Linked DNA regions of Homo sapiens: all the other regions are linked to region 1. The links are contacts of gene promoters, found by promoter capture Hi-C in blood cells and fetal thymus (Javierre and others, 2016). All regions are on one chromosome and are shown on one strand. The core of a region is centred on a gene start or on the middle of the fragment in contact, and the rest is flanking DNA. Distances in the headings are between cores, read along the strand shown.

Region 1 (4,389 bases), core at 1,281-3,780:
CTAAAGAGGGTGGGGTGGGGGTAAGAAGAAGAGAGGGGGCTGGAATGAGCCAGAACTTCTGCATTTTCAGCTATGAACAAGATACTCATCCCAGGGATATTTACTGTAGAGCATAAAGAAATCGCTAAGAAGCAAAATCCTGCATATAAGTAGACATATCAGGGATAAGGGGAGGTGAAATTTTCTTATGTACCTAAAGAAATATATACATCACCCTGAGAATTTACAGATTATTTATTGCTTGGAAGAGAGTATTTTCTTCTACCAATATCCTACCATTCTCCCTCCACTATTAGTTGACCTTTTACTATGCACTAAGCATAGTAATAAGCCCTTTACATACATTATCCATTATCTTTTTTTACTCCTATAAAAGCCTCTGAGGGAAGTCCTATTATCATCACCATTTTACAGATGAGGGAATATTCTACCAATAATATAGATCAGACGCCTAAATTTAAAAATTATATCTACGACATGGTAGAGTTAGTTTTAAGTTATCTCTAAGCACTCAAATAGAAAAGGACACAAAAAAATTAGCCTCTACCCCAAGTCCAAAGTGGATATATTCCATTTTTACAACTTTCAAAACTTTAACCTTAGCATGCAACAATATTCATATACTAGTCAAGCTAAAGAAAAACTACTAGTTAATAATGCTTTATCTTATTTAGTTACTGTAGTTTATAATTTAAAAAGCAGGTTGAAGGTTTAGAGCATCCCCTTTGGGTTCAGACAGTATGGAATTGAACCTACACAATACCACCAATAACTGCTATGTGACCTTGGTCAGACTACTCTCTCAGATTTCATTTCCTCATCTGTAAAATGGGGATGATCTTAATAGCACTTTTCTCAAAGGTCTGTTGTGGAGATTAAAAAAAAAATGTATGAAAAGGACTTATTACTGTGCTCAGTGTATAGCAAAAGGTCACCTAATGGAGAACAGCCACACATAAGCTAAGCAGAGCAAACACAATCACTTAAAAAGGCTATATTCTGAAAATCCACTTACAGAAAAGGAGAGAATTACTATTTGACTACATGCTAAAGACAAAATTCAAGTTCAATTTATTCCTAATTTTTTAGGGGATCAATGCATTTGGGGTGAGCCAGAAAAGATGCTGCAGTGCATCTGTGACACACACCTAAAAATGGCTCCAGTCAAAGCAGCATCTTAATTACCAATATGGGAGGTGAAATCTAGTTTTGAAAAATGGTGGGGTTAGGCTTGGTAGGTGCTTAGTATCACCCTATTATTTTTATTTGCAGGAGTAAGCTATTAAGTACTCAACAATCAAAAAATCCTCCGATTCTTCTGGTGCATTCCAAATGAAAATCTTACAGCAGAGCCGCCTACTGTACAATTCTAAGTACTCTAACGAGGTATGAATCTATGAACCCAGGCTGAAAACCAGCCAATGCGGAAATCCAGGTAGCTTTATAAGCCAGCAAACATCAGGCATGTCAGACCCTCAAAAGATCCCAAATAATGTCAAAACACACATACATCCCTTTAAATTAAAGGTACTCCTCTCATGCAAAGGAAGGAAGACTCTATCAATGTCTCTATAGTGGCCCCATGCCCTTTTCTTCAGTCCTAAAACGGGGCCTTTACCCTGACACCACCAATATCAACGCTATCTCAAAGACAGGGAGCTACCGAGATTCACCACGCAAGTTAGAGGATGGAGCGGCCTAGAGTGTGAAAAGACTACCCAAATCCTCCTCCGGAGTTGGGCAGCACTTCCCTAGCGGAAGTAGGGTTGGTCTTGATTCCCCGAAGAGCCTCTCATCTAACCAGGTCTTTAAACCAGACCCTCCCATACATTGCTCATTGCAAGTCCCACCCTCACTACACAGGAAGAGGTAGACAGTGAAAGCCCCGGCTGAGTCCTTCAGTTGTTTGGGGAAACGCATACCCGACACTAAAAAAAAAAAAAAAAAAAAAAGACTTCACGTCCGCCAGTCCAGGAAGACGGAAACCCCCTTCGCTTACCCGGCAACATGCGTAATCCCCTCGCAGGGCCAGGACTGGGGTCTAGGTGGGAGCAAGACAGACCGGTCCAGAACTCCCGCTGCAGACCACATGGGGCGGGTCTGACTCCGGTTTCCCGCTCCCCAAGCTGGAGGCCGACTTCCCCAGACACAGAGATGATGGTAACCAAACAGAAGGGAAATGCCCGGACCCAAGGCCCTCTCCACGCGGCCCCCTAGCCTCCGGGCGCCAGGGTCTGGGTGCGCTCCCACGCCCCAGGCCGCACTCTGGCCGTTCCCGATGGGGCCCTCTTTGATCGCGGCCCCCACACCCTCGCTTTCCTTACCGGTCAGGGTGAGTGTCAAGTTTGCGCACTTCGAGGGTCTCCGCCGATCTCTGATCGAAAGAAGGGGGAGGGAAAGCTGGGGTTAAAGGGGTGGCCGGAAGGGCCACCAGACTGGAAAAGCCGAAGCTGCGGATGGACAAACCGCCAAAGCACTTTCGCAGCTTTCCGAGGGGGAGCGAGCGAGCGAGAAAAAGAAGCAAGATGGCGGCTAGCCAGCCCCTACGTACTACGTCATGACGCTAAGTACGTAGGTCAAATCTCCGCAAGACCACACTCCTGCGCAGAGACGGCCGGATCACGTGAAGCCTCCGTGGCGGCCCAACCCCGACAGAGGGTGCTGGCGCTTCCTGCTGGACGGAGGGAGTTTCTGCAATCAGAATTATCTTTTCAGGACAAAGCTTGGACCTGAGACCTTTCTAAGAAGTCTTGAATTGACCACGTTTACAAGTTGATAATAAGCCTCAGTGAAATGAGCACTCTTATGTCTGGTGGGTGGATGTGTAAATGGTTGAACCAGCAGTTCGCCAGTATGTCTCAGTGAATTTGGGGCAAGCTGAGAAGTCTTGGTGTATTGAAAAGTTATCACAGAGAGTGAAAGTAAAACTAGTGTGAGGAACAGAGTAGCATGGGCTGCTGAGAGCACTTTTTAAGTTTCTAATTATGGATGTGAGATAAGCCATTCAGTTTATTTATATGATCTCTCCATCACAGTGTTCAGCTCCGTTGAATAGTAAGATTCACCCATGCTGGCTTTTACTAGGCAAGTGTAACATAGGCAGATGAGTGTATCTGGAAGTGGGAGACTACAATGATGATAATATTATGTCAGAACAGATGGCGAATGTTTAGTAAATGGTATCTTTTGTCCTCTTTGTGAACTACCTATGACATATTTAAAATTCAAGGATTTCTTACCACTTCTGGTCTGAACGATCTTCCCCGCCAGTAGCTGGTGTATGTCCATGGAATTGTCACTGTAGCAATGTTAGAATAAATGAAATAATAAAGAGAGGTAAATTATGAACACCTCCCTCCCCACTAATATTAATTTGAAGTAGAAAAGTCTGGACTTGCTTGGTGGCTCATGCCTGTAATACTAATACTTTGGTAGGTCAAGGCAAAAGGATTGCTTGAGACCAGGAGTTCAAGACCAATCTGGGCAACATAGTGAGACCCTACCTCTGCAAAAAAATTAAAAAGAAAAAAAGCTAGCTAGGCATAGTGGCACATGCTTATAGTCCTAGCTACCTGGGAGGCTGGAGGCAAAAGGATCACTTGAGCACAGGAGGTTGAGGCTGCAGCGAGACTCTTTCTCGAAAAAATAGAAAAGAAGAAAAGAAAAAGTTTTTTTATTGATATAGGGTCATTGCCAGGGGAAAGCCTACTGATCATCCACAAGAGGACAAGGAAGCATTACTTTAGTGAATTTCTACAACCTTCTAGGATCTGGTCTATAGTGTCCTGGTCACAGAAACATCTTTCTTTGTTTTTTTGGAGGCAGGGTCTCACTTTGCTGCCCAGGCTGGAGTGTAGTGGCATAATCACAGGTCACTGAAGCCTCAACCTCCCAGGCTCAAGCAATCCACCTGTCTCAGCCTCCCAGGTAGGTGGGACTACAGGTGCTTGCCACAAAACCTGGCTTTTTTTTTTTTTTTTTTTTTTTTTTGCCAGTAGAGACGAGGTCTTGCTATGTTGACTGGGCTGGTTTCGAACTCCTGAGCTCAAGCAAGCCTCCCGCATTGGCCTCCCAAAGTGCCGGAATTACCGGCATGAGCCACCACGCCCAGCCAAATCATCTGTCTTGAGCAATGGAGAACAACTTCAGCAATCAGATGAAATTACATTAACCAAGGTCATAAGACTGACACGTATGGCCGGGCGCGGTGGCTCACGCCTGTAATCCCAGCACTTTGGGAGGCCGAGGCGGGCGGATCACAAGGTCAGGAGATCGAGACCATCCTGGCTAACACGGTGAAACCCAGTCTCTACTAAAAAATACAAAAAAAAATTAGCCGGGCGTGGTGGCGGGCGCCTGTAGTCCCAGCTACTCAGGAGGCTGAAGCAG
Region 2 (4,389 bases), core at 1,355-3,854, 4.7 Mb before region 1:
TTTACTTAATCAACATATTGACCATTGTGTCAAGCACTGATATAGACAGTGATGAATATGACAGATATGGGTCATACTCTCAAGGATGGTAAAGACAGTTTTACAGAGAGTAATTAAACTTTATACCATCAGTTCCTTAGTGTTTTTCTCAGAATATTCCCTTTCTTTGTCACCATCCTAATCTAGAATCTTATCATTTACGCTCGAACTGCTTTAATTTTTCCTAGTCTTTGTTCCTAATTTCCCACCTCTTCTGAAAGATTAATCTCCTAAAAAATTAATCTTTAAAACATTATAAATGTTTTTACCCTACTTAATGCCTAATTTCCGTGAAAGCTGTCGTAATCAAAATGGAATTATATGGGCTCGGTGGTACACACCTACAGTTCCAGCTACTTGGGAGGCTGAGGCAGCAGGATTGCTTGAGCCCAGGAATTTGGGGGCTGTACTGTGCTATAGACTTGCCTGTGAACAGTCACTGCATCCCAGCCCCATCTCTTAAACAAAAGGGGGTGGGGGGCCCCATCTCTTAAACAAAAGGGGGTGGGGGGCCCCATCTCTTAAACAAAAGGGGGTGGGGGGGCCCCATCTCTTAAACAAAAGGGGGTGGGGGGCCCCATCTCTTAAACAAAAGGGGGTGGGGGGCCCCATCTCTTAAACAAAAGGGGGTGGGAGGTAGTCACTAATATATTTTTTAAAACACTGAAAAATAGATTCAGAGGTCATGAAGAGAAGGGGTCTCATGCTTGCACACCTGATGACAAAAACTATCACAAAAACCTGCAAAAGCCACAATCTTTTTTTTTTTTTTGAGATGGAGTCTTGCTCTGTTGCCCAGGCTGGAGCACAGTGGCACGACCTTGGCTCACTCCAACCTCCGCTTTCTGGGTTCAAGCGATTCTCCTGCCTCACACTCTCGAGTAGTTGGGATTACAGGTGCATGCCACCACACCCGGTTAATTTTTGTATTTTTAGTAGGGACAGGGTTTCGTCATGTTGGCCAGGCTGGTCTCGAACTCCTGACCTCAGGTGATCCACTCGCCTTGGCCTCCCAAAGTGTTGGAATTATGGGCCTCAGCCACCGCACCTGGCCAAAAGCCACAATCTTACACAAAAAATACTTCCGCAAAAACATCTGCCCAGCAACTTCCTGTCCAGTTTCCGACTGGTGTCACCTTGTTATTGATCTTCGTAGCCAAGGATAACGGTTTAAAAACAATTATGTAATTCTCATTTTTTTTTAAATTTTAAAAACCTTTGCCTTCCTTTACCTCCTTGAATACGCACGTAGTTTACTAAGTCATGAGTATTTTCACACTTTATTCCCAAATAAATATATAAGAATCATAGAATGATAGAATTGAAAAGGATAAAATCACACAGTTGTTTCTAACTCCCACCCCTTAGAATGCGGCAAATGAAAAAAATTTTTTTTTTTGAGACAGGGTCTCTGTCTCACAGGCTGGAGTGTAGGGATCTCCGCTCCCTACAGCCTCAACCTCCCCAGCTCAAGCAATCCTCCCATGTCAGCCTCCCGAGTAGCTGGGACTACAGGCCTGCTGCCACCATGCCCAGCTAATTTTTTGTACTTTTTGTAGAGACGGGGTTTCGCTATCTTGCCCAGGCTGGTCTCTAACCTCAGGTTCAGCCTGATCCTCACCTCCAGGCTCAGGTGATCCGACCCCCTAGGCCTCCCAAGGTGCTGCGATGACAGGCATGAGCCACCGCGCCCGCCTATAATCAATTTTCAATATTCTAAAAAAGCCTACCAGAAATTGTATATTTTCTGGTGGTATTAAATGCTAGGTTTCCTTGTTTTGTGCTAGAATTATATCAGATCCACAATAAACCTAGGTTCCGACTGAGCTGGGTCTGATTGAGCAAAATCTGTTTTCCCATTATTGTTATGTTCAATTTGGCAAACAGCTTTTCAAAATATAGGAGTGAAGTCGTGGTCGAACTAATAAAATTGGTAACACTTGCTACAATGTTTGCAATTCGCAGAAAACTTCACTGACTTCATCTTAACTTATTCCTCACAAAGCTGTGGAATCACCATCAGTAGAGCAGGAGTCGTTGGCTCAATGCAGTGCTGTCTGCAACCGCTCGGAGCTTCTAGGTTCTTTCCGTGGGTCTCCAGCTTATGAGCACCTACATTCCGCGATTCGGAAGCACCTGCCTACCCCTCAGAAGAGAGAGACAGCTCCTTCTTCCCGTTCCGGAATGTGGTGCGTTCGCACGCATGCGTGACACGGCTACTCCGCGCTTGCGCCGATATTCTCCGCTTGGGGCGGATACCCTGGGTGACCCGTGAGCGTCCGCGCCCGGCGCGCGCCTGCGCAGTCGCTTTTCGAGAGTTTCCGCCCGCTACGTTCCCGTCTTTCAAACCACCCCACCACCTATACCATTCATTCCAGTCTCCTCAATTCTTTCACTGTATTAAGACGGCCTGCCCTCTGGCACGTTTTCTGGAACGAAAGCGGCTTGGGACAGACAGACTCCCTTCGCCAGGGAGCCCCGACCCCGAGGGCGCGCCCTGAGCGTCTGAGCGCAGCCCCGCTGCGTCCCCAGTTGTATCCCCCGCCACGCCCGCCTCTTCCGCCGCTCGCGCGCGCGCGCACGGCCGGCCACGGCGCGCCGGGGTTGGCTGCTACAGGGACCGCGGTGGCGGCGGCGGCCTCGACAGCGGTAGTGCCTTCTACTCCGCTTTTTTAGTTTCCTCCGCCCCCTCCCGTGGGACGCTGTTGTGTGGCTGCCTTAAAAAAAAACGCAACTTTATTGTTCCTCAGCCCCACCTCCGGCTCGGCGGGCGTCCTCAGGATGCACTGAGGCTGAGGGGAGGGGAGGCGGCGGAGGGTCGAGGTCGCGGTCCCTCTCCTCCGAGCGCCCGGCTGGAGGGGAGGGAGTCACGATGTCTGGTAGCCGCCAGGCCGGGTCGGGCTCCGCTGGGACAAGCCCCGGGTCCTCGGCGGCCTCCTCGGTGACTTCCGCCTCCTCGTCTTTATCCTCTTCCCCGTCGCCGCCTTCCGTGGCGGTTTCGGCGGCAGCGCTGGTGTCCGGCGGGGTGGCCCAGGCCGCCGGCTCGGGCGGCCTCGGGGGCCCGGTGCGGCCTGTGTTGGTGGCGCCCGCCGTATCGGGTAGCGGCGGCGGGGCGGTGTCCACGGGCCTGTCCCGGCACAGCTGCGCGGCCAGGCCCAGCGCCGGCGTAGGAGGCAGCAGCTCCAGCCTAGGCAGCGGCAGCAGGAAGCGACCTCTCCTCGCCCCCCTCTGCAACGGGCTCATCAACTCCTACGAGGACAAAAGCAACGACTTCGTATGGTGGGTTTGAAGAGCACTCCCTCCTTGTCCCTAAATTATGAGTTTCTGCCGCTTAGGCTTGGGGGCGGGGGGTCTGGTGTGGGGGTGGCTTGTTGGAGAGCTTGGGATACTGGTGCTGTGGTGGTGTCTGCAGAGGGAATCGAGCGTTTGCAGGCATTCGAGCTCCTGGTTGGTGGGGTGAAGGAATGTTGGAGTAGCGAGGCAGGGTGGGGATAATAAAGAGGTAGGTAAGTGTTGCTGAGGAGGAAGTGAAGGGAGTTTAACGAATGACGAGGGAAGAGGTGGAAGGTCAAATAAATGGTTTTGGATAACAAAGTTGGCAGAGAGGTTGAGTCTTAAAATTTTTGCCTCTCTGATGAATTGAACACTCAGTCAATCAGGAGTCCTTGTTGAGATGAATGAAATTTGCAAATGGAGAGGACTAAGCTTCCTCGGATGCAGAGGGGTGGAGTTGGTCAAAATTTATTTGAAGTATGGTAGATGATGCTGTAAACATAAGCATGGATGTCTTATAAAGACATGCTTTTTATAATAATGTAAGTACCTATCGTATGTATGTGTAAATATCTTCTTCCATTTCAAAGGATGGGCCACTTAGGAATCGGCTGTTGAGACGACTGTAGTCAAAGTCTGTTAACAGATTTTTCACTTCTCCACCAAGTGTCTTGAAAAGAGAGAACCACGTTTGTTAAATAACATCCCTGTGTCAGATGTAACTGTACTATACTGGATAACAGAGTATACTGGAACTTCTGACTTGAGAAATGCTAGGTATAGACATTTTGTCGTCATAGTTGGCATCTTGAATGATACAGAGTAACATTTAGTCATGACATTTGGGATAGAGAGGTTAGTCATATGAAGTGAAAGGTGGTGTTGATTGTCTTGCTTGAGAGTGTTTTGGAATTTTTATTGGATTTTAGATATTGGTAGGATTATGAGAAGTAATTGCTGTTAGCTAGCTGCTTAAGAAGTGGTAGTGTTTCGTACTTTCCTTTTTGAGGAAATTGTTGATCAAATATTAGGCATGTAGGAAGTTGGCTGCTTGCACAGTCATTATGAGGGAAGTTG
Region 3 (4,389 bases), core at 656-3,155, 3.5 Mb after region 1:
ATAGTTTTAAAAACCAGACTCCAGCTATGTTCAATTTTAAAATGATTAATCACCACTCTAGGTACTTATCCTACAACAAATGCACAGAAGCTTGTAGAATGATGTTCATTAAAATGCTGTAAGGGCGAACGTCTACTTAAAGAAGAAAGGTTGAGTACCCTATGGTACTTCATAATGTTACCTACTATGTAATAATTTAAAAGACAGAATCAATCTATTTTTACTGCCATGGAAAGATCTCCAAAATGTGGAGAAGTGAAAACAATGTTTACAATATGACACCATGCACTCAGGTGTCTCTCTCATACACACACAAACACACACACACCCCAGCATTTGTACATGTACATATGTACTTGTAAGAATGCAAACAAAAAGGTCTGGAAGAATATTCAGAAAACAGAAAATATTATTTCTAAGGGTGGCGGAGTGAAATTGAATGGGAGGGATCAAAGGGATTTTTGCTTCATTTTTATTGAGTTTTTATAAACAAAATGTATTCGTATTTTACTTGAGACACTAAAAAGAATTAAAAAATTGCATGCTAACTTTTCTTAAATAATTTACAAACCAGAACTGTTGGTTGTAATGAGATTTCATTTTCTTCTCTTTACTTGAAATCAAAAACAAATGAGAGCAACAAACACTTTTTAACTAGCAAGTGGCAAAACTGGAAAGAAAAAAATTTTATGATGTTGTTTGCCGTATCTCCAAATAGAAAGAAAGAGTAATGAAGAGTATACAGGAAGAAACAAAAAAGACCTTTACTAAGTACGTCCATTTTTAAGAAACCAAACTTTTTAGTTGACTCGGGCGTGACCTAGAATCCTCAAAAAAAAAATGTTATGCAAAACGAAAAAAGTGGAATACTGTTCCCCCAAGTACTGAAGGTTGTTTTTAGAAAGCTTAACTACGAAACTGTAAATGCCAAGTGTGTTTTCCAGGGGTGGGAAGAGGAACGTGAAACCCTACACCACCTTTAAGCGGTCAAAACGAACTGAAGAGCAGAGTGGAACTGGGAGAGCGCGCGGGGGTGGGGAGAGCTCAGCTATCACTTTTAGGTTTTGGCTCAGCGCCGCAAAAACAGTTTACACGGATTCTGTCTGGAGCGTGAAGTCCCTGAGGGTGGTCAACGCGTCGCAGCCGACACCTAAACCCTCTGGAGATTGAAGGAGAGGGTGGGCAACAACTTAGGTTCTTCGGCTGAGCGGGGAAAGCGCGCTGGAAAAGAGCAAAAGAGCTAACTTTTGCTCTAAACGCGGCAGCTCCTGGAGGTTCCGCAAGTCTCCCGAGTCCCAACCCATCAGCGACCCCAACACCTTTACAAGCCAGTACCTTCTGCCCACGGCCCGGCCCTCCGAGAAAAACCCAGCAAGGGCGGCGGCTGGCAGCATGCACAGGGGGCTTGACTGGGGGAGGCACCGGCACGGAATTCGGCAACCAAGGCCCCACCCAACACCCCAGAGTCTCCGGGCGCCCCCACCGAGACGCCGTCCCACCTCCAACAGACCCGGCAGCGTGCCCCCTCCCCCACTCTAGGCGGCGACCTCAGCGCCTCCGCCCCGGGGCCCCCGCTCACCCAGGTAGCGACTCCGCAGCCGGGACGGGTCCTCCAGCCCGAGGGACCTTTTCCTCACGTCCCACAACAGGTGTGGGTAGGAGCCACCCCGAGACATGGCTCTGCCTGAGCCGGGTGGGAGGGGAGACCACCGCGTGGGGGAGGGGAGGAGGGGGAGGGGACACCCGTTTCAACACCCGAGCCGCACCGGCACCATCCGCGCGCCGGGCCTCCAGGGCGCAGCGTTAGATGGCGGTGGCAGCAGCGGCGCCTGGGCCCCTGAAGCCCGGCCGCACCCGGGCCGGAGCTCGCCTCATACTCTCCTTCTTAGACTAACCAGAACATCCAAAGATCAGCAACAGTCTCCTCCCTCAGCCCCCCTCCAACAGGAGGAGGCGGAGGCGGAGGCGATGGCGACTCCTCCCTCTCCTCGTCCTGGATACCCTCCCCGCCAACCCTTTCTCGCGAGATGACGACCACCCTGGGGACTGAGGCTGGTGTGTGCTGCGGCTGCCCTCACCCTGGAAGAATGCATTCGGGCCACTCTAACCAGATCCTTAAGTCGCTAGGGATAAAAGACGAGTAGAGAGAGAAGCTACTCAATTCTGTAGTCTCTCGCTCACGAGTCTCCAGTGAAAAGAAGCAAGAGAATTGTGCGGCATCATCTTTAGGCACTGAAGGCCCAAAAACCCATTTTAACTACGGGCCTGCTTAATCAAAGTGAAAGGGCAGTAGAACCAGCGCAGCTTCACTTTCCCTTCTCCAACATGGCCTCGAGGGCATGGGGAGAAGGAGGAGGTTTCCGCTCGACCCCGCCCGCGCCTCGGGGCGGGCCAATCATGGCGGGCAGCTCGGCCTGCGCAAGCGCGCTGCCAGCAGGGCGCAGCGCAGACTTGGTGAGGTGATTATTTTGGCACCTGTTGCCATGGCTCCTCCCTCTCTCCTGCCGGGGGCCGGAGGCGGACCGGGGGCTGGCAGTCGGCAGCCTCCGCCCCCTCAACCTTCGCGGGGCGCGGGCCGCAGCTTTTCGGTTCACAGCGGGCAGGGAAAGCCGCGGGAAGGGTACTCCAGGCGAGAGGCGGACGCGAGTCGTCGTGGCAGGAAAAGTGACTAGCTCCCCTTCGTTGTCAGCCAGGGACGAGAACACAGCCACGCTCCCACCCGGCTGCCAACGATCCCTCGGCGGCGATGTCGGCCGCCGGTGCCCGAGGCCTGCGGGCCACCTACCACCGGCTCCTCGATAAAGTGGAGCTGATGCTGCCCGAGAAATTGAGGCCGTTGTACAACCATCCAGCAGGTAATGGACCCTGAATGGCTCCTTATCGAGACCTTCCTTCTCGCTTCCTCTAAAATGGACCTTTTAGAGGCCCTCTGACAACTGCCTCTAGAGGCATCCACAGCCCCAATCCCTTCCCTTCAAGTGAAGCCGTCTACTCTCCTAGCCTGTGCATTTCACCCTCTCTCCTGCAACATCTCTTCCTAAGCCAACGTATCTCAAGTCAGCTCCCTTCCCCACCTATGTGACATCCGCTCCCTTACGCACGACTCCAACCCAAACCTGATCTCCAGATTTGAGCCTTCTCAACTTCTGCGGCCACCAAACTGTCTGGGGCCACCATGAAACACTCATTCTCTTTCTCTTTTCGAATTGTGGCATATTAACCCACTCTAGGCAGAGCTGGATGGGTGGTTTGTCGCACTGTAGGGTTTGGAGTAAAGGTCACTTTCTTCAGCTGCTGCTGGCAGAGGCCTGCAGACTGAGCCCTCCCCCAAACTGCATGCTTTACTTCATCCAGGCTTGAGTCAGTGTCATTTCTCATCCCATAGGTCCAGTGTGTTTTTTTAAGTCTATCCTTATTTATGAAATTGTTGAACAAGCTCTACCCAGAGCTTTTTGTGTGGACAGACCTGGATATCATTCTCTTCTACCACTTATAGTTGTGACCTTGAGCAAAAGCCTAGATCTCTGTTTGTGTAATACGCGGTCTATGAGAATGACAGATAACATATGTGCTTGACTCTTTGTAAATGCTCAGTAAACGTTACATCTCTCTTTGCCTACTGGAAAACTGTGTTCTTGTGGTTGAAAAAAAAAACTGTAAGAAACTGAAAGATTCCAATCCCTTTATTAAAGATCTAGAATTCTGTTACCTCTTCTATAAAGTGAGTTGTAATAATACTTATTTGCTAGGGGCTAACATCAGATATATTCTGAGGTCTGTTTCAAGCCTAAGACTTGGCAAACTAGAAAATGTGTTGTAAATTGAAAGACTGAAGTGCTACCCGAAAAGTGGCTTTTATTCTCCTACATAGTTAAAATCTGTATTCTGTAGTTGGTATCATTAGGAAAGTTGTCTAGTTCCCCCATTATCTGATTATGAACCAGCTCTCTGGAGTCTGAACTGGTTACTAAATCTGATTTCCAGTTTGATAATGGAATGAATTGAACATCTGGATTATACTCTAACCCTTAATATTATTTACTGCAACATTGAACCCATTATAAAACTGATCATTAAGGACAGTTTGTTACTGATTTAAAAAGTTTTTGTTTATTTGCCTTTTAGTTCTTTTAACATTCAATTTTTTTGGAATTATGCTGTGTTTTGTGGCAAAGATTTTCGGGAAGGAGGGTTGAGCTATGCTTTTTGTAATAATCTGGGCTTTACAGAGTCAACTGAATGTGAAGTCAACCCTGACCTTCATAAGCTTTGTGTTTTAGCTGTAGGATAAGGGCATGACAGAGTAAGAGTAATTTTAAACTACTTAAAATAATACAAAATTGGAGGGTAGTCTTACCTTGATCCTTTCCAAGCCTTTAGTTTTTAGCC
Region 4 (4,389 bases), core at 768-3,267, 3.5 Mb before region 1:
CAAACAATAAATAGGTCTTCAAACCTAAATTTTCCAGTTTATGTTTTAAAATATTTACAAGAAACGTCTGCGACCTAAAAAGTAAAACAAAGAACTTTTTTTTGACAAAGGATTCATAGATTTCCTTGTAACATCTAATCCGAGTGTCATTAGATGTTAGACACTTTTAAAATATTTAAGAGATGAGAGAACATGCAGTGACCATGGTAAAATGCTTTTATAGCAAACTTAACTGAGGTAATGAATGCTCCACTTTCTGTCACTGATTGGTCTTCATTATCTTCCCACCTCAAATACCTCACATAAAAAAAGTCTTAATTTTTAAGACAAAAGATAAAAAAAAAAATTTCTGCTTTTGAGGAAAAGTCTTGCTCTGAAGCTGGGTCAGTCTTACACTCAGAAGTGTAGGAGTTGGTTGCACAGAAGGTGACAAAAGACCGAAAATGCAACATACTCTTGGAAATTATCTTTTGAAAAAGCCACCACGTTCTCATTTTCTTCTCTTGCCAATCCATCATCTATTAAAGTCTACTACTTTCTACTTTCTAGAGATAGAGGCAACATTTTATGAAATTCAAGAGTTAAAGACAATGTTAGAAAATTATTGAGCCTAAGTTTTTTTTCCCCCAATTACCCTCTGACATACTGCAAATACACAAGATCTTTCCAAACAGCTGTTTCACTTTTCTTACAATAACTTTACACTCTGGCTTGACACTACCAACTTGACCAAAAAAATCTTGTGTCACAGCTTGATATCAAAAGCTCAATTTAAAAAAGTCTTTTAGTGCTTTATAACTCAGAATATCAGACGCACAACAGAGTTTGAAAGCCTGTTTCTTAATAGTCTTATAAAATGCAATAACAGAACTAATTCTTTTCTTTTACTACAAGTCTTTTGTTATCTCATTTAACTCAGATGCCCTAGTTTTGCCTATCTATAACAGATGACATGGTATAAAAAGTTCAACTCTGGCCAGGTGCAGTGGCTCACACCTGTAATCCCAGTACTTTGGGAGGCCAAAGCGGGTGGATCACTTGAGGTTAGGGGTTCGAGACCAACATGACCAACACGGCGAAAGCCCGTCTCTACTTAAAATTCAAAAATTTGCCGGGTGTGGTGGCACGTGCCTGTAATCCCAGCTACTCGGGAAGCTGAGGCAGAAGAATCGCTTGAACCCGGGAGGCAAAGGTTGCAGTGACCCGAGATCGCGCCATTGCACTCCAGCCCGGGCAACAAGAGCAAAACTCGGTCTCCCAAAAAAAAAAAAAAATCAACTCTGCCCAACCCTCTTGTCCACACTCTCGACCCTTCCAAGAACAGCTCATATTACTATGACAAAAAATCTTGCAAACTCATCTTTTGAGCATAGAACCAAAATGTTTCAGTTCAAAGTAATATTTTTATTGTAATGGTTTCAAAAAAACGCTGATTCTACAACTCCTAATTCATAATAAAAATATTGAAATGTAAAATGAAATATATTAAGTCTAAGCAAGAGGTTTTGCTTTTTGACTGAAATAGGAATACTTTATCTAGCAGAATGAGAAAGGTACTTCGAATTAGGCAAGGGATTCCCCCAATGGCTGAATTCCCAAGCCCTCTTTATTGCCAGTTTTGACTCTAAAGTACTCTTTTTATTATGAAGTATCCACTGAAAAAACTTAAAACTGAGACAGTTCCTCAGTTCTGTTATTGGCAGACTTGAAACCAACAAAGGTGATTCCTTTGATGCTTTTTCTGCACAAATACTTTAAGATGTCCTAGTTTCCTATCTAATTTATCATGTAATTTTCCTTGCCTTCTTGGCATGTGTTTGTTTTACGTATATAAAAATTTTATTTCTCTTTTATCCCTACCCATAAGGCATTCAAGCTTTATCTTCCTATTTCCTAATTTTTCACTAGGAGGCATTAACACCAATGTGCCTCAAAAATGGGCAAAGGAATTCAACACACATTTCTCCAAAGACACAGAAATGGACACCAAGAACATTAAAGATGCTCAACATCTTCATCATTGGGTAAACGCATATCAAATTCCCAAGATGCCACTTCACACCCAGTAGGATGGTATCATAAACCGAAAAAGAAAAATAAAACACCCCAGAAAATAACAAATGTTGATAATGATGTGGAGAAACTTTCAGAAGCTTCAAACATTTCTTACAGGAATATGATGCAACCACTCTGGAAACAGTCTAACAGTTTCTCAGAAAGTTACCATATGAACCAGTAATTCCACTCCTAGGTATATACCCCAGAGAACTGAAAACACATCCACACAAAAAACTTGGATACAGTACTCGCAGCAGCATTATTTATGCTAGTCACGAAGTGGAAATAAGGCCAGGCGCCATGGCTCACACCTGTAATCCCAGCACTTTCAGAGGCCGAGGCGGGCGGGCGGATCACTTGAGATCAGGAGTTCGAGACCAGCCTGGCCAACGTGGTGAAACCCCGTCGCTACTAAAAATACAAAAATTAGCCGGGCATGGTGGCGCGCGCCTGTAATCCCAGCTTCTCAGGAGGCTAAGGCAGGAGAATCCTTTGAACCCGGGAGACGGAGATTGCAGTGAGCCGAGATTGCGCCATTGCACTCCAGCCTGGGCGACAGAGCGAGACTCCGTCTCAAACAAAGAAGTGGAAATAAATGTCCATAAACGGATGAAAGGATAAACACAATGTGCCACATGCATATAATAGAATATTATTTAGCCATAAAGAGCATGTGTACTGATACACGCTACACCATGGATGAACTTGAAAATGTTAGTGCTAAGTTGAAGGAGCCAAAAAACAAAAGGCCACATACAGCGTGACTCCATTTATATGAAATGCCTACAATAGGCAAATTCACAGAAAGTACAAGATGAGTAGTTGTCAGGGGCTGAGGGAGGAATGGGAAGCAATTGTTTAAAACACACTACATGGTTTCTTTCTGGAGTGATGAAAATGTCCTGAAACTAGACAGTGGTGATGGCTGCACTACACTGTGAATATATTTAAACAAAAAACAAATACCTGAATTGTACACTTTAAAATGGTTAAAAACTTGAATTTTATCTCAAACAAAACAAAAATCAAGTGCCCTCAAATGTATATTTCTAAGTGCCTAAACTGAGAACGATCTCTACTTTCAAGAGGACTAACACTGAGCTATCCACCTGCAAGACTGTGAAGTTATCTCCTAGGGGCACATAGTACCCAAGACCTACCTTAAAAGACTTGTCACAAGATACCCAGATTAATACTGGAACACACAAACCTCATAGTTTTTCTTCATTTAAAGAAAAGATTTTGAGTTTAAAAAACAAAAACAAAACAAAACAAAAGCTTGGGACTCCCCAGTACTTGTTTTCATAAAGCAAATCTAGTTAATACACACCCAACACTTAACTGTGAATAACTGTCCCGTCTTCACCTCCCACTTACGCCAGGAAATGAGCAATACAAGTACTATCATTCCCATTTTCTAACTGAGCAAACTAAGTCTCCACAAAATTTAATTCTCCAACGTTCAGAGTTTACAGAGCTTTAACACAGGCCATTCGCTTTCTTACTATTAATTACAACTAACTTTCCAAGTTATTTATTTTAAAAATCACATACAGCAGATTGCTGTTTGCCAATCACTGACTTAAACACCTAGAAATCATATTTTTTAACAACCCTATGAAATGGATGCTACTGCGACACAGAGAAGCTAAACAACTTGCCCAGAGTAACACAGCTCCTCGTGTGTAGAGAAAACCTGACTAGGAGAATTCAAGTGCTAGCACTGAGAACTCACCTTCCAACCGCCCTCTACCAAGAACGACACTCATGTTTGCACCCAGCTTTGCTTGAATGAAGCTTCCTGTCCACTGGCTGGGAAACCAGGGCAGAAAGGGCCTGAGGAACACGCGCAAAGGGCCGCTCTCCCAGACCCACTCCCCGCACCGCCTGCACGGATAATCGCCGCACACCCCCGCTCGAGCCCAGCAGGCGAGTGGGGTGCGAGGTCGAGTGGAAGCGCTGGGGAGCCGACGGCGCAGCAAGGGGCGAGTGAGGTGTCCCCCGGGAAGGCGGCGCACTGACTGGCGCGGGACCGGGTGGCCGCAGGGCGGCTCAGCCCACGGAAACGGCGGTAGGGCGGGAGGCTGGCGCTGCAGCTCCAGCCGGGGGGCATAAGGAATATGGGGCCGGACCACTTACCTCTTCTGAAGCCATGGGGGCTGGGTCAGGCCGAAGTCCCGAGCTGCAGCCGCGCAGAAGGAGGAACAGGAAACCCCGCGCCGAGCCCTCAAACCGAGCGCAGACGCCTACCCGCACGAGTCGCGGCGCTGCAGCCTGCGCCCACACCGACCCTGCGCAAGATCGCGGCCCGCCTCCCGCACGCGACGGATC
Region 5 (4,389 bases), core at 1,031-3,530, 3.5 Mb before region 1:
GACTCCATCTCAAAAAAAAAAAAAAAAAAAAATTAGCTGGGTGGTGTGGTGTGCACACATGATCCCAGCTACTGGGGAGGCTGAGGTTGGAGAATCACTTGAACCCAGGAAGTCAAGGCTGCAGTGAACTATGATCATGCCACTGCACTCTAGCCTGGGTGACAGAGTGAGAACCTGTGTCAAAAAAAAAAAAAAGAAAGAAAGAAAATATAATAACAGGAAATGCTTACGCTGCCTTCCTTGTAGGGGGGAAAAAAACCCCAATAAATAATTGGAGAATCTCATTGTAACAATATAAACAACCAATATTAACTGTAGGTAGTGAATTTTCTTTATTGTTGTCCTTGTTCTTTTAAAAATGTTTTCAAGTTTTCTACAATGAATATATATTTGTAATAGGATTTAAAAAATAGTTTTATTAAGAAAAAAAGGAATTCAGAATTTTAATTCCATTGGAAGGGATAAGATGCCAAAATGAGAAAAAAAAATTTAAGTCCACTTCTGTTAGAAGGTCATATTCTACACAAAACCATATTGGATCCTCCTTTTTGACCAAGATATAATGTAACCCCTCAGAAGTGGTGCCTTGTGAGGAACTCTTTCCCTAGATGTTCCTGAGAAGACTGTGAATGCTCTTGTAGAGGCAACTTGTACTCATCAGATTCTGTCTGTTCCCCTCAATCTACAGAAGTTACACCCTCCCACAGAAGCATAATAAATGTGGAGACTAAAAAACAAATTTCTAAAAAGCCAGAGCTTCTACAATGAAATCTTTGAATCTTTGCCTAAGCAACACAATTTCTAGCAGGGGCTGGAGAGTTAGCCTTTATTTCTGATATATCTATTACTCCTTTTCATGGAAAAAAAACATATAGGAAACTTAGATTAAAAAAAAAGATTTGAGAAGCTTTTTCAATAAATTTCCTCCCAGCCAGGAAAGAGTAACAATACCAGCACAATTTCAACATGACATATTTCACAATGCAGGCTGCTTAGCCAGGGAAGAGATTTTTCTCATTTCTTGATAAATATCTTCAAGAAACTAAGATAAGACTACTTCAATAGGTATTCCTGAGTTAAGTATCCTATTGCTATTGAAATTGTACTTGTATAACCCCAAAGTACAAAAAGCTCCCTCGACTATTATGTACATTACATTCATTTGGCACAAGTGAAAATGTTGCCACTACCAGTTTTTCAGGTTACAATTACATGCTTAGAATTGAGTTAAAGTAACCTCCAAGTAAAGTCATAGGATGTTCATGGAAAAGTACTTTGTTCAAGTATTTAGAAATCATACCAGGTAGCTACTTCACTGTTGATTAGAGATAAATGTCTGATGGATTATCTGTTATATAAGAAAGAGGTGTGAGTTCAGCTGAAATTCTGACTAGTAACTTCTCATTACAATGACTGTTGCAACTGAAACCCTTCCTTACAGACACACAGCTAAAGGGGCAAGGGCAAGGGTGGGAAAAGATTTGGGAGAAACTGAGTGTCTCAGAGTCCCTGCAAAGCAAAATAGCCTAGAGGGCACGCCTACTGGCTTTTGCTTTAGCAAGAAGCTTCAATTTAGTGTCTGCAAAGCAAGCAGCACAGTGGGAAGTGTCAGACTCCTGCTCTGCACTCACAGACAAGTGGGAAAGCAAGCTACGGGGCCAAAAATGCAGTATCATCCTCCAAAGTATGAACCCAGGGTGAGTGCTACTGAGCACTACAGTGAGACCCTGCTACTGAGATGGAGATTTTCTACAAAGAACTTGCCCACACTTACCTACTGAGGGCTAAACAGAGCTTATATTAACGTGGCTGTCTTTTACAGTTCTTCTCAAGGAGCCAAAACTGTTTTCAATACTGACCAATTCTAGAAAAAGTTTGCCTGTATACTAGAATGGAGAAGAGAGTTTGGTTTTGATGGTCTTGGAAAAGGCAGTAACCCTGCTTGGTTCATTTTGAAATGTTGACAAGGGTTGCCCATGGAAGACAGACTTAAAGTCAGCCCCAATAACCTCAGTCAGCCCAGAGAAATTCACATGCTGTAAGTTTGCACAAGCAGATGTGCTAAATGCTCAAAGCCTGTAAACAAAACAGGCAAACTGGCTCCCTCTTGCCTTTCAGAAAAGATTACAGGAGACACTGCTTACATAACTCTTAAAACTCACATCACACTGTCTGAAACATATACTCCCCATCTCACACAACTGACACCGTTTGAACAAAAAGCAGATAACAACTGTCCTCATAGTTTCACCCCTTATGGATAGGAGATGTACAGCTGGGAAAGTTTGGTTAGTAACTTTTGGGAGGAGGATACTGCATTTTTCAAAGAGACAGACACTGATGTTACAGACATACATAGATTAAAAAAAAAACTTACCTCCTCAAAAGTCATAGACCAACTACTGTTTTCAATCATAGGTACAAAGACAATTAAAAAAAAAGAATATCCAATGAAATTGAACACCTACTAAAATATTTATGAAATGGCAATAACAAAAACAGACACTTCTTAATGCTCTTTTGCTTTTCCTTTGAGTGTCATATAACTCTAAGTTCTCTCTGTGACCGCAAACATTCAATGGAACAAAGATACTTGAGGTAGCCAGTGGGCAAGTCTCAACTCAGGAAGACTCATATCTTCAAACTCCTCCCTCTCCACATTGCTGTTTACAGTTTGCATGAATGACTAAAATGCTGTATGTGGGACTATTAAGGAACTACGGTGTGAGGTGTTGATACTGTGTTGTTAAAGCTGGGTGGAAGGAACTTCCTTATATGACAAGGTCAGAAATCTTGCAAAATAGTTCATCTTCAGACAAAAGAATGAAATTGCTGGGCAGGGCAATGCAAAAGAAAAATGGATCCTGGATCTCATGTGTACCTGGGGGCTGAAGTCTGGGTGAAGCGGTTCAAGGGATTGTGAACGTCATTTATTTCAAGATGAGAAACCAGAGAAATGTGAACTGTTAATTAAAAGTAAAGAAACTAAGCTTTAAAGGAAAAAATGACGAGGAGGGAGGCGGCTTTATAAACCCTAGCTCAATATTTTGGGTGTTGTCTGCTGCTATGATGAATTCTTGGCACATGCTTTTAAAGACTTTTAAGGGTCAGGAGAAAATGTTTTCCTAAAAGACTCAGTGCAAATTTATTAGCAACAACACACTCAACTCTCACATATTTTCTTTTGGATACCTCTTTTAAAAGAGTTGACAGCTATCATATTCAAGTTTTCAAATGCCTACAGATAAAATGTTTAAATATCTATGTTGTCCATAATGAAGATCTGAGAAAGAAAATATGGATATTTGAAGGTTTTGTGCTTCCCTCCTTTACTCATCACATCCAATTTTATCTTTGTAGTGGAAAATTTCAAATTTTTAAATGTCAAACTAAAAACAAAATCTTGTCAGTGATAAATGACAGCTGGCCAAACAGACTGCATTTCTTTCAGCGCTTAAAAAACTATCTTAGGTTATACTCTTGCACAGGGGTCAGCAAACTTCTAGTGTAAATTGCCAGAAAGTAACTATATTAGGCTTTGCAGGTCGCATGGTCTATGTTGAAATTTCTCAACTCTACAAATGTCATACAAAACCAGCCATACACTATAAATAAATAAACAGGTGTGGTTGTGTTCCAATAAAACTTGGTTTACAAAAACTGGCAGTGAGCCAGATTTGGCCTATAAACCACAGTCTGCAGATCCTTGCTCTACTCTAGTACACAAATCAAATTTTCAAAAAGCAGATGCATTCTAGATGATATAGAAACATATTAGTGTCAGGTAATTTTCTCAGTAATACTTAAACAGAAAAGAAAACTTTCTAAAAATTAATGAAAGTTTCTTGAAAACTCTGAAGATCACCAGTAAACATACTAGAAATTCTTAGTGTTCCTAAAGCATATTCTTCCCCCAAGGGTTAAGTATAAGGGACTCTAGCAGACCAGCATTGTTAGAAATCGCCCACTCCTTATTAGCTATATTGCTTGAGAAGCCAAAAGGATTTAGTTTTGCATCTTCACCATCCTATAACAATGAACTCTCTGGATTATCCAAGCTCAAAGAGAAAGTGGAAGACTTCTGAAGTTTATCATTAAGTTATCATAGGCATATATAAACCATCCTTGTGTCTATTACTATTCCTTAAAAGCACATTATTTCATAACATACTATTTCCAAAAGCCAACACAGTTTTTGGGATATGAAAAAATAATAAAATGTAAGTTTATTTGCTATGGCAGAAAAAAAATTTTTTTTTTTTTTGAGACGGAGTCTTGCTCTGTCACCCAGGCAGGAGTCCAGTGGCACGATCTCTGCCCACTGCAACCTCTGCCTCCCAGGTTCAAGAGGTTCTCCTGCCTCAGCCTACTGAGTAGCTGGGACTACAG
Region 6 (4,389 bases), core at 690-3,189, 3.3 Mb after region 1:
CCTGAGGTCAGGAGTTCGAGACCAGCCTGAGCAAAATGCAGAAACTCCGTCTCTACTAAAAATACAAAAAAAAAAAAAAAGTTATAAAAAAAAAAGAAAAGAAAGATATAGAGAGGAAAAACTCAAAAAAGTAATTCAATTTCTGGTGGGATGAAGGGAAATTTTTTTCCTTTCTTTTCTGTATTTTCCTAATTTTTTTCAGTGAGTCTACTAGAATATTACCACTTATTTTCTTGAATTAGGAAGCAAACATCGTTTCATTACTTTCCTCTCTTCCCTGGTCACTCCCTCTGCTCAAATCTTAAAATGCAAGTACTCACTTAGGGTTCTATTTTATGACCTTTTCCTCTGGATGACTTCTAGATACCTTAATTCATTCCCAAAGCTCCAGGTACCAAATATAAGCAGATAATTCCCAAACTTAAACCCACAGACGTTATCTTTTTTGAGCTCCAAGATAAATATATCTAAATGCCTACTACACATCTTCACTTTATGACCTATACCCACCTCACATTTCAATAAACTAAACTCATCCTCTAACCAACACCCTGCCCCCATCTGCTTCTCCTCCTCCTGTGCTTCTCATCTTGTTCAAAGGCATACGATACATGCAAAAATCCAAGCCAGAGATCTTGTCATCAGCATAGACTCTTCCTTTTTTATTTCTCCTCCCATCAGCTGGCCATCCCAGGGACTTAATCTTCTAAAACCTATCTTTTCTCTTACTAACTGGTCTCCTTCCCATCCCTGCGGACCTGCAATCCAGCCTCAACATGGCCTCCAGAGAAATCTTTCAGAGCGTACATCTGATAATGCAGCTCCTTTGGATAAAATTACACCCAGTGGTTGTCAGATAAAATTGAAAACTCCTTAGCCAGGCATAAAAATTCCCTCAGTATCTTGATTCCCCTGGGGCCTACCTCTCATCTCTCACAACACCCCCTATGGTACCTCACGCTCCAATCACACGGACACAGCTCTTTAAACACATCACAGCTTTCACTCTCCCTGAGCCCCCAGCTTTACATGCGTCCCCTGATTCCCCTAAATTTTGTCAAGATTCAGCCCAGGCATCAAAAACGCATCACAACTCACTCTGCCTGACCTGATGGCATGTACCTATCCACCGCCCCCCGCAACGGTTTTATAAAGATTCAGTTCAGGCATCCCAATTTCCCAGATGGTTCGAGCCCCTAAAAGACCTCACATCACTCCGTGTATACATCTTCATTACATTTATTCACGCTGTAATATAATTGTCTGTCTCTCTCACGAGACTGTGAATTGAGGCGCACGTTGTCTTTTACATTTCCTATCTCAAGCGCCGGGCACAGCACCTGACGTGACAGAAACCAAACTTATAAATCATCCCCGTCATTAACCCCTAAGAAAACAGGCAACAGCCACCCAGAAAGAAAGGTGGTGCAGGCTGAGGCAGGAGGAGACGTTTGGTGAGGGGAAAGTCCACCAGAACAGTCACACTCTACTCAAACCCAGGCGGATTGACAGTTGACGAAAGCAGCGCCTGGCGATCCCCAACCAAAGGGCCCGGAAGTGTGACTGGATTATTTATCGAAGTTGTCAATCAAAGGTCCGGTCCGGAGGGACCGAACCTCCGCCTCAGGGAAAAGGGGAGGGGCTGCACAGAGTTCGCCCTGCCTCCCGCCCTGGGCCAGCAACCGGCCAGCGCCCAGACCCCGTGCCCCGAAGCCTCACTTCTCCACATCCGCCGACTTCATGATGTGGGTCTTGGACGCCGTCAGCTTCCAGGGCCCGAAGCAGAAATCCCGGTGGCTGCTCTGGAAGCCGTGGATCATCATGGCTGAGGCAGGACCCGCAGAGGCCACAAGGAATAAGCTGAAGCAGCGGCGGCGGCGAACACCGGTTCCTCCGCCTCCCTCCGGCCCAGCCTCCTAGGCTTCCGAGCCGTTACCATGCCCGGCCCCGCCCCCTGCCGGCCGACCCGGACGCGGGCTCTGCTTCCCGTCTTCTTCTCCGCCTCTTTGCTTTTTGCTTCCGGGACTAGTTGCTCTTGTTGCGTGACCCACGTCTTACGTTCCGGCGTTCCGGAAAAAAGGAAAAAGGAGAAAGTCAGAGGGGCGGCACTTGGGTTGCAGAAGGTGTGGTTAGGAACGCACCGCCCTCTTGAACTCGTTGGGTGACGTCATCTCGAAGGATTTTAGGGACTGCCAGGGAAGGGGATGACGGTTCCAACTTGATCCTTACAGACCTCAAAGCAGTGTGATTACCTCATGTGTTAGTGAATCGTGTTACAGAGGAAATTTTTCTGTTTTGAGGTCAAAAAAAGAAGTAATCCCACAGAGTTTAGGAAATCCAGCACCAACAAGATTTAGAAGTGGCCATCTAGCCACTCTTGACTATGACCAACTCCTATCAAAAATTGCATCCTCGTAGATATGCGAAGACTTTCCATGGTCTAGTTGCTATGTAGGCACCCAGTATAGTGAAAACAACACAGCTGACTTAGTGCTAAATCTCCATTTGCAACACTATTGTGTGAATCCTTGGGCAAAGCGCTTCTCTAACGATTTTAGGCTTCAGTTGCCTCAAAATGAGATGATTTTGTTAATGGAAAAAAAACAAATTCTGTAAAAGGTTTTAAAGAGATTTATTCTGAACCAATATGAGTGACCATGGCCCAGGGAATAGTCCCAAGAGGTCCTAACAAAGAGCATCTGAAGCGGTGGCATTACTCTTTGTTTTATACATTTTAGGGAGTTGGGAATTGCAGGTAAAATAAGTCAATATATGGAAGATATACATTGGTTCAGGCTAAGGAAGTGGGATGTCTTGAAGGAGAGGCTTACAGATCATAGGTGGATTCAAAGATTTTCTGATCGGCAATCTGTTGAAAGATTTAAGCTTTAGTCAGGCGAGGTGGCTCCTGCCTATAATCCCAGCATCTTGGGAGGCCTAGGTGAGAGGATTGCTTGAGTCCAGGAATTTGAGACCAGCGTGGGCACCAGAGTAAGCCCTCATCTCTACAAACCGTGTTAATTAGCTGTGTATGATGGTATCTGCCTGTAGTCCCAGGCCACTTGAGAGGCTGTGGTGGGAGGATCTCTTGAGCCTCAGAGGCTGCATTGAGCCATGATCATGCCACAGCACTCATGCCTGGGTGAGCGAGACCCTGTCTCAAAAACAAATAAAAACACAGGCCAGGTGCAGTGGCTCAAGACTGTAATCCCAGCACTTTGGGAGGCCAAGGTGGGTGGACCACCTGAGGTCGGGAGTTCAAGACCAGCCTGGCCAATATTGTGAAAACCTGTGTCTACTAAAAATACAAAACTTAGCCAAGCACGGTGGTGGATGCCTGTAACCCCAGCTACTAGGGAGGCTGAGGTGGGAGAATCACTTGAACCTGAGAGGCAGAGGTTGCAGTGAGCCGAGATCGTGCCACTGCACTCCAGCCTGGGTGACAGAGTAAGACCTTGTCTCAAAAACAAACAAACAAACAAACAAAAAACAGTGTTAAGCTTTGTCTAAAGACTTGAAGTCAGTAGAAAGGAATGCTTAAGAAAAGGGAGTCTGCTATCTGTCATGTGATTCTACACCAGTCAGGTTGGAAAGTAAGGCACATTATACCATTGCACATAAAAAACCATTTAACGACATTTTATGGTTTGTAGGGCATGACTTAATCCTTGCCTTGCATGGCCATAGTTTTTTTGTTTTGTTTTGTTTTGTTTTGTTTTGAGACAGAGTCTTGCTCTGTCGCCCAGGCTGGAGTGCAGAGGCCCCATCTCGGTTCACTGCAACTTCCACCTCCTAGGTTCAAGCGATTCTCCTGCCTCAGCCTCCCAAGTAGCTGGGATTTCAGGCATGCAACACCATGCCCGGCTAATGTTTGTATTTTTAGTAGAGACGGGGTTTCATCATGTTGGTCAGGCTGGTCTTGAACTCCTGACCTCATGATCCACCTGCCTCGGCCTCCCAAAGTGCTGGGATTACAGGCGTGAGCCACCGCGCCTGGCTCGCAGGTCTTGTTTATTTGTATTTATTTTTTTTTTTGAGACGGAGTCTCGCTCTGTCACCCAGGCTGGAGTGTAGTGACGTGATCTCAGCTCACTGCAACCTCCACCTCCCCAGTTCAAGCGATTCTTCTGCCTCAGCCTCCCAAGTAGCTGGGACTACAGGCACGCGCCATCTCGGCCAGCTAATTTTTGTATTTTTAGTAGAGATGGGGTTTCACCATATTGGCCAAGCTGGTCTCGAGCTCCTGACCTCGTGATCCGCCTGCCTCAGCCTCCCAAAGTGCTGGGATTACAGGCGTGAGCCACTGCGCCCAGCCTAGGTCTTGTTTATAATATGGTATCTTATTGCCACAGAGTGTTTTGTCAGTCTTATGATCTCTAGTTTAACCTT
Region 7 (4,389 bases), core at 564-3,063, 3.3 Mb after region 1:
TCAAGAGTCTGCAGGGAGAGAAAGTGTCTGCCTCTTAAGCACCAATTGTTCATAAAGGCTTGTTGACAGTCTATGGAAATAAAGCTTTAAATAACGAGGGTCAGCTACCTATGAGTCAGACCTTTCTTAGGCCCGGTCTGAGGTTCCACTTGAGATTCATAATAGAGGCTAGAAATCAAGAAAAAAAAACCCGTGAAATTACTCTGAGCCTTGACCAATTAATAAAGGCAACAAATTAAAAAGAACCCACCAACTTGTTTTGAAATATCAAAAAGTTAAATTTCAGTGACTCCAACATTCGATCCCATAGAATTACTCCCTCAAGGTGAAGATTCAGAGAGCAATCTTACATTCGGAGATGTCATGCTAAGTCCCAGTATCACACAAAACAAAACCGAATAAAATCAGCAACCACAAACGTGGGTGAAAGCAGCTTGCTGAGAAAGAAGAACTTGCTGAGAAACCAGAAGAAACACTGATTAGTTTCCAGTTGGCCATATCATCTTAACATCCTCATTTCACAGATGGGGAACGGAGGCTAAAGAATACACCAAAAAGCGAAGAGAAACGTTATTTTGTCATCCAAAAAGGAAAACAAAAGCTAAAAGCACCCTAAATAGAAATGCAGCATTCTGTGTGGTTCTACAACATAGGACATTAGTGGCCAGGTTTCAGCACGATCAAAACTTTTCTAATAGGCCGGGCGCGGTGGCTCATGCCTGTAATCCCAGCACTTTGGGAGGCAGAGGTGGGCGGATCACTTGAGGTCAGGAGTTCGAGACCAGCCCGGCCAAGATGGTGAAACCTCGTCTCTAGTAAAAATACAAAAATTAGCCGGGTTTGATGGCGGGTGTCTGTAATCCCAGCTACTTGGGAGGCTGAGGTGGGAGAATCGCTTGAACCCAGGAGGCAGAGGCTGCAGTGAGCCAAGATCGCGCCACTGCACTCCAGCCTGGGCGACAGAGTGAGACTCTGTCTCAGAAAAAAAGAAAAAAAAGCTTTTCTAATAAAACAAACCAACACGCAGGCAGTCTCCTGAGGCGCTGGGTGTCTAGAGACTAGTTGTGGGCAGTGTGGACAGAGACACAAGATGTGGTCCCTGTCCTCATGGGATGGGGGCAGTTTCTCACCCCCAATCACAAGGCAATGTGTACAGGGGCGGGTGGGAGTGTCACACCCTACAACCTAAACCGGACAGAAAACCAAGGCAGAGCTCGGGGCGCGGCCACCAGCCCCGTCGCGAGGTAGGGACCGCCACCCCAACACCCCAGTCCGGGTCTGGGGCCCCGACCCACCCAGCAAAGGCTCCTTCCGCCTGGACCTCGGGGCCCCCAGCCCTACCCGGCCCTAAAGCGCATTCCCCGGCCGGTGGGGCCGGGGCCGACAGCCCAGTCGCCCACCCTCCCACTCGCAGCTCAGTCCGGGGATTTCCTCCTGCGCCGCCCCCTTGTCAGGGAGGATGGGCTGAAGGGGCGCGGGGCAGAAAAGGACGCCGCGGCCACTGCCCCGTGTAGTGCCAGACCTCTTCGCGGAGCCCTGCAGAAGAAGAGGAGGAGAAGGGGCAGAGCTACCGTCCAGAAACTCCAGGGAGTCCCCGCAGGCTTCCCAGGCCCGGGCAGGGGACGCAGGGCGGGAGCGCGGCGAGAGGGGGCCGACGGCCCCGGGCTCACTCACCTCGGACAGGCCGCTCCGGTCCTCCGTGTCCTGCCCGCTCAGCACCTTCTTCAGCTTGTCCATTGCGGCCCAGTCCCCACCAGCTCCAGCTCCTCAGCGGCAGCCTGTTGCGCTCGCTAAGTTGACGGCTCTTCCGGGTGCTAGGCAGCCGCCCAGCCGCCCAGGCGCCAACCGCGGCGCGCCCCGCCCAGGCACCTGCCCACCGGGGGGCTCCCGGCATGCCCCGCGCGCCCGCGCTCGCCTCCGCTTGTTTTGGTCCCGGGGGGCGCGGCGGGCCGGAGGGGCTGGGATTGAAGACCACCAGGCGCTGCCAAACACTAATTCGGCGTCCAGAGCAGTTTCAAACCGGAACGGGCCGCGCTCCCTCGCCCTACTTGATCCAGTCAACGAATGCCGAGCACCTACCACGTGCAAGGCTCCGGAGACACAAAGACGGGGGAGAAGCCTTGTGCAGACGGGAACAAAGGCTGTGGTTCATCCATATTGCGATCGTGCCTACACAGGAAAAGATTTTCTTTTTAATCACTCAAGGCCTTAGTCTGGTGTGGTGGGGCGTGCCTGGAAGCCCAGCTACTCCGGAGGCTGAGGCAGGAGGCTCACTTGAGCCAAGGAGTTCCAGGCTGTAATGAGCTATGACCAGGATACTGCACTCCAGCATGGGCAACAGAGCGAGACTCTGTCTCAAAAAAAAAAAAAAAAAAAGTGACTGAAGGAATGTTGAAAGGAATAATAGATTGTTAAATTGTTTTGTGTTTGTACAATTGTTTTTTTTTCTGACCTTAAAAAAACTAAAAGTAGACTGGGCATGGTGGCTCATGTCTGTATTCCCAGCACTTTGGGAAGATGGCTTGAGCCCGGGAGTTCCAGACCAGCCTGGGCAACATAGGGAGACCTCATCTCTTCAAAACATTCTTAAAAATTAGCCAGGCATGCTGGCGGGCATCTGTAATCCAAGCTACTTGCGAGGCTGAGGAGGAAGAATGGCTTGGACTCAGGAGGTCAAGGCTGCAGTAAGCCATGATTGTCAGTACAGTAAGCCACTGCACTCTAGCTTGGGCAACAGAGTGGAAACAATACAAATGGCCACCAACTGATTAATGGTAAATAAAATGTGACATACCCATGCAATAAAAAAGAATGGAGTACTGACACATGCTACAACGTGGATGAACCTCGAAAACATTGTATTAAGTGAAAGAAGTGTGGAGCCCGAAAATTTGAGACAGGTCTCAGTTAACCAGGAAGTTTATTTTGCCAAGGTTGAGGAACAGCACCTGTGACACAGACTCAGGAAGTCCTGACGACATGTGCCCAAGGTCGTTGGGGCATAGCTTGGTGTTATACATTTTAGGGAGACATGAGGCATCCGTCAATATGTGTAAGAAGTACATTGGTTGTGTTTGGAAAGGCGGGACAACTCGAAGCAAAGGCAGGAAGACTCAAGGGGGGAGGGGGCTTCCAAGTCACAGATAGGTGAGAGACAAATGGTTGCACTCCTTTGAGTTTTTGATTAGCCTTTCCAAAGGAGGCAATCAGATGTGCATTTATCTCAGTGAACACAGTGATAACTTTGAATAGAATGAGAGGCAGATTTGTTCTAAGCAGTTCCCAGCTTGAATTTTCCCTTTAGTAATTTGGGGGGGCCCAAGATATTTCCCTTTCACAGAAGCTAGACACAATAGACCATATATTGTATGATTTCATTTATAGGAAATGTCCAGAATAGGCAAACCCATAGAAACAGAAAGTAGACTAATGGTTGCCTAGGGATGGAGGAGGGGAAATGGTAGTAAGAGACTAATGGGGTGATTTAAATGTTCTGGAATTAGATTGTGGTAATGGTTGCATGCACAGCTCTGAACATACTAAAAACCATTGAATTGTATGCTTTGAATTAACTGTATGGCATATGAATTCTATTGCAATAAAGCCATTTCAAAAATGCTTAGAACAGTGCTCAGTATATATTTCACAATCCATTAATATTATCTATTGTAAAATGTAACAGGCATCCACTCTTATCTTTCTCCAATGTGTCTGAGTCTGAACCCAGAATATGGGCTCCTGATTTACCTACATTTATATTTGCACATTGTGCAATTGGCCCATTACAAGGTGATTCATTGTAGCATTGTTTGTAATAGAAAAAAATTGGAAACAACTTAAAAGTTCATAAATGAGGGAAGTGCTTAAATAAATTATGGTACATTCATTCACAAGAATACTAAGTAGTCATTAAACACAGAAGAATGAGGAAGGTTTAATCAATGTCTTCAGAAGGTTTTTTCTGACTGTGCCACACCATCCCTTGAAGGATCTTTGTAAACATAAGTCTGACTCATTTGTTGCCCTGCTTAACATCTCCCACAGTGTGGTAAACTGAAAAATGTTCCCCAAAAGATACCCATGTCCTAATCTCTGGAAAGTGTACATGTTACCTTAGACAGTGAAAAGTGGAGTGGGGGTGGTATTTTGTGCAGGTAATTAAGGATCTTAAAATAGATTATGCACAATTATCCAGGTGAGCCATAAATGCAATCATGTATATCCTTATAAGAGGGAAGCAGAGGGAGATTTGACACCAACAGAAGAGGAGAAGGCACTGTGACCACAGAGGCAGAGATGGGAGTGATGCAGCCACAAGCCAAGGAATGCCAGTAGCCACTAGAAGCTGGAAGAGGCAAGGAAAGGATTCTCCCCTAGAGCCTCCAGAGG

What was found. Contacts are between HindIII fragments. The CHiCAGO score rates a contact against its expected background, and 5 or more counts as called.
Region 2: the fragment with the promoter of COP1 here is called in contact with the fragment with the promoter of PRRC2C in region 1 in 9 of 17 cell types (fetal thymus, naive CD4 T cells, naive B cells and 6 more); the score reaches 15.1 in fetal thymus.
Region 3: the fragment with the promoter of DCAF6 here is called in contact with the fragment with the promoter of PRRC2C in region 1 in 2 of 17 cell types (monocytes and fetal thymus); the score reaches 7.3 in monocytes.
Region 4: a fragment that was not itself captured here is called in contact with the fragment with the promoter of PRRC2C in region 1 in 4 of 17 cell types (total B cells, naive CD4 T cells, total CD8 T cells and 1 more); the score reaches 7.9 in total B cells.
Region 5: a fragment that was not itself captured here is called in contact with the fragment with the promoter of PRRC2C in region 1 in 1 of 17 cell types (naive CD4 T cells); the score reaches 5.7 in naive CD4 T cells.
Region 6: a contact is called between the fragment with the promoter of TIPRL here and the fragment with the promoter of PRRC2C in region 1, in 2 of 17 cell types (total CD4 T cells and total B cells). The highest score is 5.3, in total CD4 T cells.
Region 7: the fragment with the promoter of SFT2D2 here is called in contact with the fragment with the promoter of PRRC2C in region 1 in 1 of 17 cell types (fetal thymus); the score reaches 6.4 in fetal thymus.

Annotation. Positions count from the first base shown.
Region 1 is chr1:171,483,671-171,488,059 of GRCh38, reverse strand. PRRC2C (proline rich coiled-coil 2C) reads right to left here and starts at 2,530. Exons shown (of 35, transcript NM_001387844.1): 1 at 2,325-2,530. RefSeq lists enhancers at 1,977-2,725, 2,632-2,941. The HindIII fragment of the contact is 3,004 bases long and covers 1-2,724 here.
Region 2 is chr1:176,205,501-176,209,889 of GRCh38, reverse strand. It overlaps COP1 (COP1 E3 ubiquitin ligase), which reads left to right and starts at 2,604. Exons shown (of 20, transcript NM_022457.7): 1 at 2,604-3,318. The coding sequence starts at 2,912. It overlaps COP1-DT (COP1 divergent transcript), which reads right to left and starts at 2,225. Exons shown (of 5, transcript NR_185981.1): 1 at 2,019-2,225. RefSeq lists an enhancer at 1,997-2,066 and silencers at 2,567-2,776, 2,807-3,166. The HindIII fragment of the contact is 7,879 bases long and covers 1-3,746 here.
Region 3 is chr1:167,934,199-167,938,587 of GRCh38, reverse strand. DCAF6 (DDB1 and CUL4 associated factor 6) reads right to left here and starts at 1,905. Exons shown (of 22, transcript NM_001198956.2): 1 at 1,580-1,905. The coding sequence starts at 1,676. It overlaps MPC2 (mitochondrial pyruvate carrier 2), which reads left to right and starts at 1,516. Exons shown (of 6, transcript NM_001143674.4): 1 at 1,516-1,649; 2 at 2,690-2,855. The coding sequence starts at 2,747. RefSeq lists silencers at 1,500-1,739, 1,770-1,839, 2,440-2,609 and enhancers at 2,020-2,329, 2,780-2,889. The HindIII fragment of the contact is 3,362 bases long and covers 908-4,269 here.
Region 4 is chr1:175,000,004-175,004,392 of GRCh38, reverse strand. It overlaps CACYBP (calcyclin binding protein), which reads right to left. Exons shown (of 6, transcript NM_014412.3): 1 at 4,198-4,389. The coding sequence starts at 4,212. Among named protein-coding and RNA genes, the nearest start is that of CACYBP, 2.3 kb to the right of the region's middle. The HindIII fragment of the contact is 277 bases long and covers 1,879-2,155 here.
Region 5 is chr1:174,962,974-174,967,362 of GRCh38, reverse strand. All of the region lies in intron 20 of RABGAP1L (RAB GTPase activating protein 1 like), which reads right to left. Among named protein-coding and RNA genes, the nearest start is that of RABGAP1L-AS1, 11 kb to the right of the region's middle. The HindIII fragment of the contact is 1,425 bases long and covers 1,568-2,992 here.
Region 6 is chr1:168,176,512-168,180,900 of GRCh38, reverse strand. TIPRL (TOR signaling pathway regulator) reads right to left here and starts at 1,939. Exons shown (of 7, transcript NM_152902.5): 1 at 1,720-1,939. The coding sequence starts at 1,823. RefSeq lists enhancers at 1,708-1,827, 1,815-2,316. The HindIII fragment of the contact is 4,299 bases long and covers 1-2,888 here.
Region 7 is chr1:168,223,428-168,227,816 of GRCh38, reverse strand. It overlaps SFT2D2 (SFT2 domain containing 2), which reads right to left and starts at 1,813. Exons shown (of 8, transcript NM_199344.3): 1 at 1,675-1,813. The coding sequence starts at 1,737. RefSeq lists enhancers at 607-656, 777-856, 1,159-1,892 and a silencer at 1,517-2,146. The HindIII fragment of the contact is 4,334 bases long and covers 1,001-4,389 here.